Regions from separate parts of the Homo sapiens genome. Here region 2 is linked to region 1. The links are contacts of gene promoters, found by promoter capture Hi-C in human tissues and cell types (Jung and others, 2019). All regions are on one chromosome and are shown on one strand. Each heading gives the region's core, a stretch centred on a gene start or on the middle of the fragment in contact. The rest is flanking DNA. Distances are from core to core; before and after follow the strand shown. Region 1 holds the start of SLC39A12 (solute carrier family 39 member 12). Region 2 overlaps CACNB2 (calcium voltage-gated channel auxiliary subunit beta 2).

Region 1 (2,806 bases), core at 90-2,589:
TAGCTAGACACAAACGTTCTCCAAGTCCCCACCAGATTAGCTAGACACAGAGCGCTGATTGGTGCTTTTACAATCCTTTAGCTAGACAGAAAAGTTCTCCAAGTCCCCACCATCCCAGAAGCCCAGCTGGCTTCACCTCTCACTGGCACTAGCCACGGGACTTTGTGGCACCTATCCGGAGCACCTAGCCCGGGCACTCCAGCAGCCTAGAGGGAGCTCGTCCCAGACAATCAAGAGCAAAAGACGGGAAGCAAGAAAGAGATGGAGACCCGCCATCGTGGCCAACGTTCTGGTCCACGCACGGGATTCAGCCTCTGATCAAGCCCCAGTTCCCGCCCACGCCTCTCCCTCCACACCTCCCGGCAAGCAGAGGGAGCCGGCTCCGGCCTCGGCCAGCCCCAGAGAGGGTCCCCCACAGCGCAGCGGCGGGCTGAAGGGCTCCTTGAAGACGGAGAGAGCTGAAGCTGAGGCTGAGGAGGCGCCAAGAGCGAGCCAGGGCTGCTAGCAAGTTGTCATCTCTCATTACTAGCATTCTCTCAGGAATATCCTACCGCAGGGTTCCCGTGTTTCATATACAATTAGTGATGAGGCTAATCATCCTGATCTCAAATTTCCTCTACCTGCCCACCAGCTGACTTAAACCCCTATACTGTGGGCATGCATTCTGCCCACTCTGAAATCTTAGGATTTAACTTCTCTTGCTTCCTAGAAAATGAACCACTTTGTTCCTTTAGTCATTTATTCACTAATAATTTGTTGAGAGGTTTTGTTTTGAGGAGCATGAAGGATCTGATGTAAGAACTACCACCGGTGCTGGTGATCACAATATATGCAGCTGATTAAAGTTCCTCATTTATGCTACCTACATCCCTGGTAAGAATTTCATTCCTTCAACCAATACTTTTCATTTGAAAGCATCTCATTACGAAAGACTTCAATCTTTTAGGCTTCTGCATCTTGCAAAACAAATATGGTTCCAAAGAGCCTATCTTTTCAACAAATCTTTGGTTTGAGCCTGGATGAAACAGTTATTACAGAATCAACTGGAGAGGAAAAAATCTTCATCTAACACTGAAGTCTTTCTATTCTGCGAGGTGAAATCCTTTGACCTAGATTCTGTCCCTTGAAAGGCAAGTGACAGTAGGTGAGCCTAAGAAAATTGGTTAATTCTTGATCTAAAAAGTTAAATTCATGAACCACACTGATTTGATTACCTTGAAAATCTACCAGACAGAAAGTTCTCCCTTTTATCCACCTTCATTGTTACCTTCAGAGCAGCTCTCTCCATAGCAACTGAAAACTTTTCTGGGCTGAAATAATCCTCTCTAGCTCCCAGTGCACAGTCAAAGAATTTTAAAAACAGGGAACTTTGTAACTGTGAAATACTCTCCAGGATTTAAAAGGCTGTGGAGCTCCAGATAAAGAATCGTTTATCTTTCTTCTGAAGGTAAGCACTGGGGTTAGAAATGCTTGCATCATCCTCTGTCACTTTTAAATTGCTAACATAACAACCTTAAAGTGTTGTTGTTGTTTTTAACTCATAAAAGTAATCCCAGTACCTTTGTTACTAGCCCACAGTCATTTACCAGCTCATCTCTGGGCCAGGATCGGACATGAGATGCTGTTAACATTTTACATGCCTTAAGCCATCAACAGAAAGATAATTTTTTTTTCCAGGAAGTTGATTGGCTCTAAAGTCATCCCCCACTCCTTTAGTCACCACTGAGTGAGTGTGTGTGTGTGTGTGTGTCATGTTCTTGAGGTCTCGAAATTCTGTTTTTCTAAGATGCTTCCTGCTCTAGAATCTTGATTCTTAGTAAACTAAAAAAAAGACCTGTGTTTTCTGAACATTACTATTTTCTTCTAGTGCTTTTCCTTGTCTAAAACTCTTTTTTTTTCTTTTTTCTTTTTTCTTTTTTTTTTTTTTGAGATGGAGTCTTGTTCTGTCGCCCAGGCTGGAGTGCAGTGGCACGATCTTGGCTCACTGCAACCCCCGCCTCCCGGGTTCAAGCAATTCTTCTGCCTCAGCCTCCCATGTAACTGGGACTACAGGCACGTGCCACCATACCTGGCTAATTTTTGTATTTTCAGTAGAGACGGGGGTGTCACCATATTGGCCAGGCTGGTCTCAAACTCCTGACCTCGTGATCTGCCTGCTTCAGCCTCCCAAAGTGCTGGGATTACTGGTGTGAGCTACCGCGCCTGGCCTAAAACTTTTAAACTCAACATGATGTTGGTCATTTAGTAGAATTTATTTTCTCTTTTTCATGAGGACCATGAATCACTTGGAGTTCTTTATAATGGGATAAACATAAGGTGTTTCCCAACCTGGGTCCTATAACTTGTACCACCTGTTGGTAAATGGAGAAACTTACGTGACGCTATGTTTAGTTTAGGGAGAGAGAATCTAGCAAGCTTTTTGGCTGCTGTGCAGTTTGAAAGTCTACAGCCATGGTGCTTTCCTGCCATTTGGGGTTAGAAATTACCTACAGACCCCCGCTGTGTAGAAACAGCTTGTCATTGCAAATCAGCTTAGCCACCCAATTAATGAATCCTTTCAAACATGTTGCAGGCACAATAATTGAAGGCTTTATTTTTCCCCTTTACCACAGAAATTCCTTTGGTTACAAGTTTACCCCATAAACGGCAACACACTCACCTCCATCCAAGACAGACTCAAGGTGGAGGAAGCGTGGAAATGTGCTTCCGGACAAAGCTCTCAGTATCCTGGGTGCCATTGTTTCTTCTACTCAGCCGTGTTTTTTCTACTGAGACAGACAAACCCTCAGCCCAGGATAGCAGAAGC
Region 2 (2,806 bases), core at 152-2,651, 520 kb after region 1:
TCCACATTCCCTTTTAGTCTTGTTGATCCCAAAGATAAGTACGTCATCCAACTTCTTCTTTTTTTTTTTTTTTTCAAGATGGCCTCTCCCTTTGTCAACCATGCTAGAGTGCAGTGGCATGATTGCAGATCACTGCAACCTCTGCCTCCCAGGTTCAAGTAGTTCTCCTGCCTCAGCCTCCCGAGTAGCTGGGATTACAGCATCCACCACCTCGCCCAGCTAATTTTTGTATTTTTAGTAGAGACAGGGTTTCACCATGTTTCCCAGGCTGCTCTCGAACTCCTGACCTCAAGTGATCTGCCTGCCTCAGCCTCCCAAAGTGCTGGGATTACAGGCGTGGGCCACTGCGCCCGGCCCCAACTTCTTTATAAAGGTTTTGTTACTGAACATTTTGGCACTTAATAAAATTATCTAAACCTCCCAAGAGAGTGACAACACTTGACAAACACATACAGGCACACCTCCCTACCCTGGGGATGACTTATCTGACATTCCAGTTACGGTGCACGAAGCCAAGAATCCCTAAGTAGCAAATAAAACCTTTCAACCATTGAAGTAGAGTTATAACTTCCAGACACTAAAGCTGGAGTTCGTCTTTTGCCTATTTAATCTATATATTTTTTATTTTTTAGAGACAGTGTCGCTCTGTCACCCAGCCTAGAGTGCAGTGACATGATCATAGCTCACTGCAGCCTCAAACTTCTGGACTGAAGCAACCCTCCAGCCTCAGCCTTCTGCATAGCTGGGACTACAGGTCCCAGCACACCACCATGCCCAGCTAAATTTTTTACAGAGACGAGGTCTCACTATGTTGCCCAGGCTGGTCTCAAACTCCTGACCACAAGCAATGCTCCTGCCTCAGCCTGTCAATATTTTACCTGTATTTCTCATCAGCTTGGTTTTTTGGTCATGGTTGTTAATTTTTGAATTATATGAAAGTCCTACATAGAAGGTTCTCTCCTGGTGTTTTGGCAGATGTAAGAAAATTGATTTCGTTTGTAGCTGTTAATTTGAGAATCCATTGTAGATACTAGCAATTTCTGAAGGAATAAGAGATTCACACTTTAATGGGACTTCACAATCTTTCATCTAAAAATTCTAGCTCCTGGTAGGGAGACAAGTTCCAGACCCACAACTATTAGAAATATGTTAATAAACTGGGCCCCGGATTGAAGCATGTCTAAACAAACTATGGAATTTAATAATGTCCGAATAATGTGGAAATAATGTTTTCAGTGGAATAGGATGAGGCTGGGTGTGGTTCTCACACCTGTAATCCCAGCACTTTGGGAGGCCGAGACGGGCGGTTCACTTGAGGTCAGGAGCTGAGAGCAGCCTGGCCAACATGGTGAAATCCTGTCTCTACTAAAAATACAAAAATTAGCCGGGCATGGTGGCAGGTGCCTGTAATCCCAGCTGCTAGGGAGGCTGAGGCAGGAGAATTGCTTAAACTCAGGAGGCGGAAGTTGCAGTGAGCCAAGATCACAACACTGCACTACAGCCCAGGCAACAGAGCAAGACTCTGTGTTTGTTAAATAAATAAATGGAATAGGATGAAACAGAAAAACATTGTCATTTTTTGAAAACTCTGAAATAATCTATTCTAAAGTAATTCAATTGAAATAATAAATTCACTTTGCATTCTCCTTTTGCCACAAGATTCAAATATTTACTAACTGGCATCAACACTGGTGTTCAAATTCAGTATTGGCAATTTCACACTTGAAGACTGTCTGTGTTCCCAGAGAGTGTTAAGTCTAACTTTGAGGTCCACAAATATTTATTGGTGTCTGGTGTATGCCAGCAACTGGGAAAACAATAGGAGGTGGTTCCTACCTCAAAAAGCTTGCAGTTTGGTGAATTTACAGTCTAGTAAGACTAGACCTACGTAAAAGATACAGAGCAATGCAAAACAGTAGATGTCAGATGCCATTTGACTAACATACGCGTTAATTGCTGCAGGATTTCTAGGGAAGGAGAATCTGGTGGGCTGCAGTAGGAGAAATTGGAAAATAATTTACTATTCTCCATTGACAGTGGCAGTCAGGAACCTGGGAGCCCAATTTATTTGTCCCCTCAACCCAACTCAAATGGGTCCTCCCTTGGGAACTTTGCTGCCAACTTGCTCCTCTTCTAAACCCCTCCCCAGGCACAGTCTATCAACCCCAACTTTGCAAAACTTCCATTTTTTGTTCTTAACTATGCTAAAGTACTCACAATGCATTGCAATTGTTTGTAAGCCTGTCTCCTCTACAAGATTCTGATTTCCTGTTTTGTTATGTTCATCTTTGAATTCCCCTACTGCTTAGTATGATACATACAATATTGTTAGTGTCCCCAAAAAGTGTTTTTTTGTGAATTAAAGAAATGAATGAATTCACAATGTATGACTTGGGCCTTAAGGAAGATGGCATTCCTACATCTTAAAATTAGTAAACAGCATACCTTTACCAGGCACATGTTGATCAGAAATAAAGGAAAGTAAGTAGCCTGTAGAACTGGGGTGCTCAAACACCAATTTTTCTCAGGATTACTGAAAAACTTAAATATACAGGCCAGGTGTGGTGGCTCACGCCTGCAATCCCAACATTTTGGGAGGCTAAGGCAGGCCGATTTCTTGAGCTCGAGTTTGAGAACAGCCTGGGCAACATGGCGAAAACCCATCTCCACAAAAAACACTAAAAAAATTAGCTAGGCATAGTGGCATGCATATGTAGTTTCAGCTACTTGGGAGGCTGAGGCAGGAGAATCGCTTGAGCCTGGGAGGTGGAGGTTGCAGTGAGCTGAGATGACACCACTGCATTCC

The links. The method cuts DNA at HindIII sites, captures the fragments that hold promoters and counts their contacts. A contact is called where the count stands out against the background at its distance.
Region 2: a contact is called between a fragment that was not itself captured here and the fragment with the promoter of SLC39A12 in region 1, in 1 of the 25 tissues and cell types used here (bladder).

Annotation. Positions count from the first base shown.
Region 1 is chr10:17,950,579-17,953,384 of GRCh38, forward strand. SLC39A12 (solute carrier family 39 member 12) reads left to right here and starts at 1,340. Exons shown (of 13, transcript NM_001145195.2): 1 at 1,340-1,447; 2 at 2,613-2,806. The coding sequence starts at 2,699. The HindIII fragment of the contact is 7,346 bases long and covers 1-2,806 here.
Region 2 is chr10:18,465,625-18,468,430 of GRCh38, forward strand. The region is part of intron 3 of CACNB2 (calcium voltage-gated channel auxiliary subunit beta 2); the gene reads left to right. Among named protein-coding and RNA genes, the nearest start is that of CACNB2-AS1, 72 kb to the right of the region's middle. The HindIII fragment of the contact is 7,793 bases long and covers 1-2,806 here.